Regions from separate parts of the Homo sapiens genome. Here region 1 is linked to region 2. The links are contacts of gene promoters, found by promoter capture Hi-C in blood cells and fetal thymus (Javierre and others, 2016). All regions are on one chromosome and are shown on one strand. The core of a region is centred on a gene start or on the middle of the fragment in contact, and the rest is flanking DNA. Distances in the headings are between cores, read along the strand shown. Region 1 overlaps LOC105376652 (a long non-coding RNA gene). Region 2 holds the start of TSPAN18 (tetraspanin 18).

Region 1 (4,856 bases), core at 43-2,542, 380 kb before region 2:
GGAAGGAATTTTAGAGACAAAAGCCCACCCTTCCCCATCTAGTGCTTCAATCTTTCTACCTTTTTGCTACCAGAAGGTTATCAGCTTACACTTACATACCCCTAGGGACAGGAGCTCACTACCTGATAAGCAGGCCCTGCTTTCCCTGGAAAGATCTGACTCAGAAAGCACTTCCTCCCACCATCCTAAATCTGCCCTGTTCCATCTCCCACACCTCAGTCTTGGTTGTGGCCCAGTGGAGCCACAGAGAACAGATACTCTCCCTCCTCCGCAGGATAGCCTCTGAATATTTTGAGAATGAGTAGGGCTCCTCCGAGTGGTCTCCTTTCTAGGGAGAGTTGATTAATTAGGACTCTTTTCATCTGTGCATGGTAGAGACAGGGCCTCACCATGTTTAGGGGCAACATGAGGAATTTCTGGTCACATAGCCCTGCGACATCCAAGGTGATGCTGGGTCAAGGAGAGTGAGTGATGTTGTCAGGGCACTGCTGTCTCTGGGTGTCCCTTTTCTTGAGCTGTGCTATTTTCCTTTCAAGGCAGGGGTGGGTAGAACCATGGCCACTGGCATTGCCAAGCCTGCATCCTACCTGTAGTAGCAAGAGACCGCCACTCCTCACCACTCTGGGTCAGGGCCAACTGCAGTTTCAGAGGGACAGAAATAGGAGGTGACCCAAAGAGGGTGCCTAAGCACAGGTCAGAGGTGAAAAGTCAGACTCAACCTTTCCTGAGGGGCGGGGACAACATTTTTCGGTTTCCAGCCTTGAGTGCCCAGAGGCCTGTGGCCAGGGGTGTTGACAGTCTCACAGGCTAAGCCCCGACATCTTCCTGGAGAGGCAACTTTCTTCACTGGAAGTCATTTAAAGCCCTATTTTTAGATTTAAACAAAAATGGAAACATTATGGAGCAGAATGCAGAATCTGCGTGTATTTTTTGAGACAAAACCCAAGACTTCAAAGAAATTTCACACTTGTGTCAGCTGCTTCAGGCAGGCTGCCTGGCCTGCGGGTGCATGTGTTAATTCTTGGTTGGCATTAGTGGGTATTTCAGGGGCAGGCTGAGAAAGTCTGAGTGGCACTGGGCCTGGGTCCCCACATAGCTACAGGCAGGGCTGGGGAGAAATGGGTCCAAGGACTTCAAAGACAGCTGCCACTGAGAGGCCCCTGGTGCCTCTGGGCACCACATTCCCTGAAAGGAGGCAGCTCGTCCTCACTCGGGAGTGAGGCCCCACCATGAGGACACACCTGCCTCTGGAATCCTGTCCAAGGGCAGGAGCCAGAGCCCAGGCTGAGCAAGGGATCCGTGGGCCCCAGCAGGAAATGCCAGCCGAGAGTGCAGGAGGCAGTGCCTGGCTGCTGCTTCCAGCTTTTCACAGAGCAGTGGGCACATGGGCAGGAGTGATCTTTGAAATATTTAACCCCAGAAGCTCATGGGACCAACAGTCAGAACAGACCTGGCCTGGTACTTGAGCAGGTCCCAGGGGCCCAATTGGACCAAGGCCACCCCTCAAGCTGCTGCATCATGGGGAGACACGGGGATCCCACGTAAGAGGCCAGGGCAGCAGGGCAGCGGGTCACACTCATGGGGAATTAGACAGCAGCTATTTACCAACTGGAGTGGACACATGCTGATATTTTAACAACCAGGATGGCAGCACTGGCTGAAAATGAGCCACGTGCATGGGTCTGATCAAGCGAGATTAAGATGAATCCAGGGCGGGGTGCAGTGGCTCACGCTTGTAATCCCAGCACTTTGGGAGGCCAAGGCCAGGAGTTTGAGACCAGCCTAGTCAACATGGTGAGACCCTGTCTCTACTAAAAATACAAAATACACACACAAAATAAGTTAGCCAGGCATGGTGGTGTAGACCTGTAGTCCCAGCTACTTGGGAGGCTGAGACATGAGAATCACTTGTACCCTGGAGTTGGAGGTTGCGATGAGTTGAGCTCTCACCACTGCACTCCAGCCTGGGTGACAGAGCGAGACTCTGTCTCACAAAAAAAAAAAAAAATCCAACCCACATTTATTGAGCACTTATTATATGCCAGGAACTGTGCTGGAGCCTTTATGTATATTAACTAGTTTAATTTGTACAATGCCACGCAAATCTATCAGTTCATTTAACACTACAGAGGATTGGTGTGAAAGCAACACGGAAAAGCCAGTCAGCAAACCTGACAGGCTTAGAGGAACCCCACCCCTACCCCTGCCCTGTCCCCCACTCAACTAGAGATGGGCATTTCCTTAAAGGCAGATGGCACAGAAGTCCAGACCTCCCTCTTGGCTTTCCCACTGCACCCCATCCACCCTCTGTTCTGCTTCATCAGTTGTCCACATTTGACATTCATTAGACTTACTCTTCACAACTGTATACACAAAACCATGTGTATCCATGCTGGTGGGGAGCATAAGAGGTTCTCAAGGGTCGTTTTGTGTGTACCTAATTTTTGCCTTACTGATTTAGAACTTGCCCCTGAAATGGGCTATGACTCATTGAACTATAATTAGCCCCGTTTTGCAGGTGAGAAAGTGGAGTTCGAAGATGTCATCAGCCCAGGTCACACAGATGGTGGAGACCAGTGTGGAGCCCGGGAGTGGGCTGAGCAGAGCATCTGGACTTTGAGCTTCCATCAGACCCTGAGATAGTCACCTGTCCTGGCTGCCTGGTGACCCTGGTGTGCTAACGTGGCACTTATCTTGCTCTATGGAGGCCCCTGGGCCCCCTAAACACCAGGTGGGTGCCTTCAGCCAGCCCCATACTGACCTGTGAAGCCCAGGTATTGCTGGCCAACCCACCCCACTCACAGACAGAAGCAGTTCTCCATCTTTTGGCTTTAGCAGATCTGCTTCATTTCTCCTCCCCACAAAGCCTGGACTTTGTTCTGGGGGTATCCCTGTTTGCAGTGAAGCTTTTTCACTCAGTGCTCAATCTGAGCCCAACTCCACCCCACATCTCTGATTCATAGACTTTTGTGACTGCCTTGACCAGTAGAGTATGGCAGAAGATGCTCTGTAACTTCCCAGGCTAGATCTAGAAAATGCCACGCATTTCTGCCTTGCTCTCCTGCGACATCCACTCTTAGAACCCAGTTGCTGTGCTAAAAAGAACTCACAGACCACGTGGAGTGGAGCAGATGGGTCAGTGTCCCAGGTGGCAGCCCGTGTCGGCCTCAGACCTGCACGTGAGGATGCCCACCAGAGGGTTCCTGCCACCACCGTCAAGTCACCCCAGCCTTAATCTTCCAGCCGGCGCCTCAGGCATTATGGGCAGAGGTAAACTGTCTCCATGATGCCCTTTCCAAATTTCTGACCCACAGAATCCATGGCTATAATAAAATGGCTGTCTTATGTGCTCAATTTTGGGGTGGTTTGTAGCATAGCAGTATAACTAGAACATCTAGCTCGTGAGAGAACCAGCAAAGAAAGCAAAAATCACCCCAGCCTATAAAGGGCCCTGAGGGTGGTGGGACCCATGGGTGACAGGAAACCAATCCCTGCACCCCAAGAGGTGGCAGGGCCTCCAACGAGAACGGCTGTGTGGCTTGCGAGGGAGCCTGCACCTTAAGCTGGGGCTGCCAACGGGGTGTAAACTGCTGAGCCCCTGGAAGCGCAGGAGCTTGGGACCTCCTACCTCTACAGACATGGCCAGCCTGGGCTTGAGGCCAGAGGGACTGCAGTGACCCCAGAGGCCCTTTCCTTCCCTCTGGGGCCACGGACACTTGCTGTCATCTGTGCTCTCTCAGGTGGGGGAAGTTCAGGCGTGGGTGAGCCCAGGAGGAGGAACTGGAGAGAAAATTTGAAAGCAAATGTGAAAACGGATGATTTCTTGCACATTTGAGTTTGCAAAGTAAAAGCCTTCTCGGTGCCAGGAACTCTTTGTTGCCTAAAGGAAATCATGTTAGAAGGGTCGGTCCAGCCTGACTTCATGGTCTCAGAGATGTGTGACCCTCACCCCTGGAGAGGCCTCTGTGGCCCTGGGGCTTAGCACCAAGCACTTTGTAGGGGTCTCAGAAATGCTGCCCACTAGAGCAGAGGGCTTCTGGGAAGAGCCATGGGCTCCTCCACTGCCTTGTAGCAGAGGCTGCCCCCAGGGAGAGGGAGGTGGGATCAGAGCCTGAGGCTACGTCCTGGCAATTGTTGTTGTGGCCACCAGGTGGCGGGCCAGGGCCATGCCAAGCTGTTGGGAAGGGCAATCCCAGAGGGGCCTGGACTGGGAGGCCCAGCTGCTTCCATGGCTCTGCTGTCACCACGGCTGGAGGGAGGGGCTGCAGAGTCAGCTGTAGCAGTGGAGGCTGAGGCCCTCTCACAGTGATGAGGTGGCTTTCAGAAGGCCTGAGCACCTGTGGTTCCCCTCGAGGCCTGGTGTGCAGAGGTCTGGCTTCCAGTCCCAGCTCTGCTGTGCAGCCTCAGACAAGCCCTTTCCCTCTCTGATAGATGAGGGTTCTCACTAGATGAGCTCAAGGCTTTTGCAGCACCTGGTGGCTATGACCAGTTGGGTGGCCTTAGGTAGGTCATGGGGTGCTATGGTCTGAATGTGTACTCCTCAAATTCCCACATTGAAACCTAATCACCGATGTGATGGTATTAGGAGGTGGGGCATTGAGGAGGCAATTAGGCCATGAGGACAGTTGACTGGGATTAGTGCCCTTATTAAATAGGTCTGAGGGAGCTCTTTCATCACTTATACTCTGTGAAGATACAGCAAGAAGTGCCATCTGTACATGAGAAAGTGGGTCTTCACCAGACACCAAATCTGGGGCACCTTGATCTTGGACTTCCCAGCTCCCAGAACTATAAGAAATACATGTTTGCTCTTTGTAAACCACCTAGATTATGGTATTTTTGTTATAGCTGCCCAA
Region 2 (4,732 bases), core at 914-3,413:
AACTTTGTCCTGGAGCATTTCAGTAGCATCCAACAAAAACATGTGGCAGACTACATTGAACAGAGGAACCTCATCTCTTTCAGGGACCCCCATTTCCCCCACCTTTGTAAGGGACATTAAGGACATGGGAGCAGGAGGGGGGCTGCCCAAGGAGCACAGGTTACCAGCTAAGAGAAAGATGAAAACTTCTACCAACCACAATGAGGCCACGGCACAATCTATGATTTGCTCCTTTGCACTCACTTGGGGTGATGGGAGGAGGGAGGGAACTGGAGAGAAAGATGAGGCAATAGTCCCTCCAATGTCCCTTCAATGTTAGCCCCGCACATGACAAAGATGACAGTCCTCACAGATGCCAGCAGCCGTCGACTTCCCAAGGCACAGACACACAGACTCAACATACAGGGACCCTGAGGCCAGACAACTGGGACCCAGGGCAGATTTCCACCAATAATTGTGAAATGACCAGAAGAATGTGGCCTAGAGACCACAGACCCAGGGGATGAGGGTGGGGGCCAGGGCTCGTTGACTGCTGAGAAATTTAACACTTCTGCCTGGACTGCTGAAGTCTTTAAGGCCCCATCCCCCACCGCCCGCCCTGTGCCTCCCAGTTTACTTGTGCCCAGAGAGAGGATACCCCAAGACCCCCATCCTGCCTTCACCAGACAGGGATTCGACCAGATCCAGGAAACAAAGGTGCAACTTTTACAAAAAGGGTGCATGCATTTTGGGGTTTGGGTTTCTGCAACTCCAAAAACCGTCAAAAAGTTAATTCCCCAACCCACTCTCTCTGCACCAATTCGCAGTTGTAGTTTCTTACATCTTTTTCTGGGGGTAAATTTCTTACTCATCCATTTGCCCTGGCAGCCTTCCCGAGAAAAATCACATCCTGACTCCTAGCCTTTCCAGCCCACGGCGCAGTTATAACTGTGAACCTTTCGCCTCACTCTTGGTCCCGCTCCCCCGTCTGGCTAGTGTAGGGCGGGCTCCTCGGGGCGGGACCCCGCGTAAGTTGGGTGTCTGTGGTCCCTGCGTCCTGGATGTCGGCGCGGTTGCCTCGCAGGAGCCAGAACGCGCTTCCTGCTGGCGAGGGCCGGGGCAGTGCGCCCCCTGGCGGGAGCCCAGTCACCTCACTCCAGCAGGACCCGGAGCCGGCGCGATCCCACCCGAGCCGAGCACCGTCCCAACTGGCTCCCACTGCCCCCTAAATCTGGACGTGCCCGAGCCTCCCACCCACCCAGCACTCCATGGAGTCTCCACTTCCCCAAACCGCACACACCTAAGGAATAAGGGGGGTCCTGGAGGAACGAGTGGCGCCTCCGCCCCGCCCCGCCCCGCTGCCAGGGACCCCAAAGGCAGCCCGCCCTCCATGCAGCTGCCGGGCCCCACAGCCCTCCCGGCCCCGATCGCCGCTCCCAGTCCCTGGTCCCTCACTGTCTTACCGGGTGGCGTGGCGAGCAGCCCCTTTCCGGGCGCAGCCCTGGCCGAAACCCCGAACCTTGTAACCACACCTGCCACCCCGCGCCGTTCTCCAGAAGCCCCCACTCCTCCACCCGGAGCACTGGGAGCCCACCGGCTCTGCACCTGTCCTGGGCGCAGCCCCCGGCCCTCAGCGGACTCCGGGCAGGCACGGGGTGGAGACCGTCCCCGGCCCCCCAGCCCCCGCGTGCTAGTTTGAGTGGAACTTGGTTGCCGGGCTTCCGTCCTGGGATCCCTACTCCACCCCAATTCCCCGCCGCGTCCAGCAGCACCCCCGGGGCGGCGCGCGGGGGGGTCCCCAGGTCCCCGGGGGCGCGGCGGCGGCGTGCGGAGGGCACGGAGGTGCGGAGCCCCATACCTTCCAGCGGCGGCTGCCGGACCCCGCGCCAAATCCCGCCGGCGGCCGGGGGGAAACTTTCCTGGTCGGAGGGGCGCGCTCGCAACTTGCCCGGCGCCGGCTGCCTTCCCGGCGGTGGCGGCGCGTCCGGGGACCCGCAGCGCGAGGCGGCGGCGCTCGCTCGGGGCTCGGGGCCGGGACCGGGGCCGGGGCCGGGGCCGGGGCCGGGGCCGGGGCTGGGGCCGGGGCCGGGGCTGGGGCTCGGGCGGCCTCGCGCGGCTCCGCGGTGGATCGCTCGGCGCTACGTCCGCCCCGCAGCCTGGAGCCCCGCGACGCCGGCGGCAGCTGCACGCCCGCCAGCCCGCCGGCCCCACCTCCGCCGCCGTCCGTCCCTCCCCTCCCCCGCCCTCCCTCCCCCTCCCCAAACCTCCGCCCCTCCCGGCTCCAGACGCCGTTGCTGCCGAGAAGCGCGTCTCCTCTGCGGGCTGCCCCTCGCCTCCCGCCAGCCTCCGCCTCCTCCTCCAACCCCGCGTCCAGGCCTTGTCTGGGGGTCCCTGGGCCCACCCTCTGCCCATCTCCCCTTCCTCCGCCTCCGACCACCTCCCGCTCTGCTCGCGGGCCCTCTCTGCGTCTGAATTCGGAAGATCGTTGCGGGAGTGGGGAGAGGGGCATGCTGGACCCGAAGTGTTTATTCCAGGGGAACTTTCAGCTGACCCCGGGGCCCAAACGCAGGGGTTGGGGTGAGATCCTCGGTCCTGATCGGGCTCCTGGGCTTCCCGCTGCCGGGGGAAGTACCTGTTGAAAGCCTGGGGAACTCACCCTCCTCTGACTTGCAGATAAGAAAGGGGACTTCCTGCATGGAGGGGCCTGACCCCAGGTCAGATGCAAATGACTTGATTGCAAGGGGCCAGATCTGTGTCTCCGGCCTCAGGGCTGAGGTTCTTGCGGGGCTGGGGAGCTTATCTTTTCTTCTCTGTACTGCTGCCACAGCAGCACTGGCTCCCAACCCCTGACATGACTTGCCTGAGACTTTTAACCTCTGAGCCTCCTCTAAACAACTACCCGACCCTGCCCCAGACAAAACGGACAAGCAAGCAGATCAAAACTGACAGCCCAAGTGAAAGTACTGATGACAGGGGCTCGGGTCGCCCACTCCTCTTCCCTTGGCAACTCTGTTTTGAGTCCCAGCTTGAAGCTTCCACACCCCATCCCCGTGGGCCCTAGGCATTCAAGCACACATCAGCTCTGCAGGAGGCCCCTTGGCCAGCTGATTCTCACTAAGGGGTGACTGATAGGAAGGAGTTGACCCTACTCCTGTCTTGTATATGGATGTTGGTAGTCAGGCCACTGGGCAGAGTTTGGGGGGAGGGGGATCTTCTTGTTTTGTTTTTGTTTTGTTTTTGAGACAAGGTCTCGCTCTGCTGACCAGGCTGGACAAGCCTGGTCAACAAGCACAGCTCACTGTAGCCCGACCTCCTGCACGGCTTACTGTAGGCTCGACCTCCTGGGCTCAAGCAATCCAATCCTTCCAACTCAGCCCCCTCGAGTAGCTGGGACCAGAGGCATGTGCCATCATGCCTGGCTAATGTTTTCTGTTGTTTTTGGTGTGTGTGTGTGTGTGTGTGTGTGTGTGTGTGTGTGTGTGCGTGTGTGTTTTGTAGAGCTGGACTCTTACCATGTTGCCCAGGCTGGTCTCCAATTCCTGGCCTCAAGTGATCCTCCCACCTCAGTCTCCCAAAGTGCTGAGATGACAGACGTAGCCACTGCACCCAGCCACCAGCCAGAGTTTTGAGAGGCAGGAAGTGGCTGCCTTTCCTTGCCCACATTCCAGGAAATGGATTCGTCCCTGTAAGGGGATGTCCCTGTAAGGACTTCAGGGATGTCTGGTCCTTTAAAGAACTTCACCGCGTCACCGGGACTCTTAGAGTAGGCACGTGGCTGGAAGAAAAATCCCTGGATCCGCGGTTTCAAAGGGACCCAGAGTGAGCAAAGCTTCACCCAAGGGGAGGAAGTCCCTAATGGTGGAATTTCTATAAGAGGAGGACAAGGAGAAGGGCTCCACATTCACCCTTCAGCTGCCAAAACAGAATGGAGGGTGGAGGCTGAACACCCCACAGGCCCTGCACTTGTGGAATGCTGCTGGGAGAGGCCCCGTGTGAGCCTCCTTGGACACCAGGCGCCACATACATTTAAAGAGGAAAAACGGGAAGCCCACAGCAAGGGTGCTGGAGCTGGGGAAGTGGAGACCAGAGACAGGCAGAGAGAGGGATAGAGTCTCTAAGGGTCTGGGGCTTGGCAGAACGGGGCAGGCGCAGGGGAAGAGAGTGCAGACCCGCTGCACAACTTAGACAACCAGCTCGGTCCCTGACTCCAGTTCCAAGTCAGTTTCCTGGACCTCAGCCTCTCTCCAGCCTCCATGGAGGACCTGGCCCTATCTGTGCATTAGCTAAGGACATCTGCTGAATAGGCTTCTCTAAATCAACTCTTATTTTTTCATTCTTTTTTAATTTACTTAAGTGAGCTTGTTTTTAAAAAGATATGTTAAATTATTACCATAAATGGAAAGCCAGCATCACATTACTATAAATAGAAGGTAACCATCAAAATAAATACAATGAAAATAAGTGTTATTAAATTCTAACAATGTATCTTTAACCACAATAATAATAATACAGTCTAACAAGATACTGCTGCCTGAGGAGGTGTTGAAGCTGAGGTCCCACTTTCTCTTTGAAAGGAAGGTTACCAAAGGCTAGAAAGGTGTTAAAGACACATTAGCAACAAACTCTTCATCAAGAGCATTGATGAAAAGAGAATTGGGAAGGGACCCCCTCCACTCCCACTCCTCACCAGGTCAATTAGGGTATTGGAGGCCCTTGGATTACCTCCAATGACCTTAATTTCCTTGAACATCTC

Evidence for each region. The method cuts DNA at HindIII sites, captures the fragments that hold promoters and counts their contacts. A CHiCAGO score of 5 or more calls a contact.
Region 1: a contact is called between a fragment that was not itself captured here and the fragment with the promoter of TSPAN18 in region 2, in 5 of 17 cell types (M2 macrophages, M0 macrophages, total B cells and 2 more). The highest score is 9.4, in M2 macrophages.

Annotation. Positions count from the first base shown.
Region 1 is chr11:45,104,983-45,109,838 of GRCh38, reverse strand. LOC105376652 (a long non-coding RNA gene) reads left to right here. Exons shown (of 6, transcript XR_931241.3): 5 at 2,519-2,731; 6 at 3,081-3,354. It also overlaps a transcript of PRDM11 not described here. Among named protein-coding and RNA genes, the nearest start is that of PRDM11, 39 kb to the left of the region's middle. RefSeq lists a silencer at 4,050-4,139. The HindIII fragment of the contact is 3,233 bases long and covers 1-2,908 here.
Region 2 is chr11:44,724,393-44,729,124 of GRCh38, reverse strand. TSPAN18 (tetraspanin 18) reads right to left here and starts at 2,163. Exons shown (of 10, transcript NM_130783.5): 1 at 1,838-2,163. All of the region lies in intron 2 of TSPAN18-AS1 (TSPAN18 antisense RNA 1), which reads left to right. RefSeq lists enhancers at 1-158, 159-661, 2,377-2,546, 1,913-2,774, 2,775-3,635 and silencers at 1,031-1,200, 2,037-2,186. The HindIII fragment of the contact is 6,014 bases long and covers 1-3,013 here.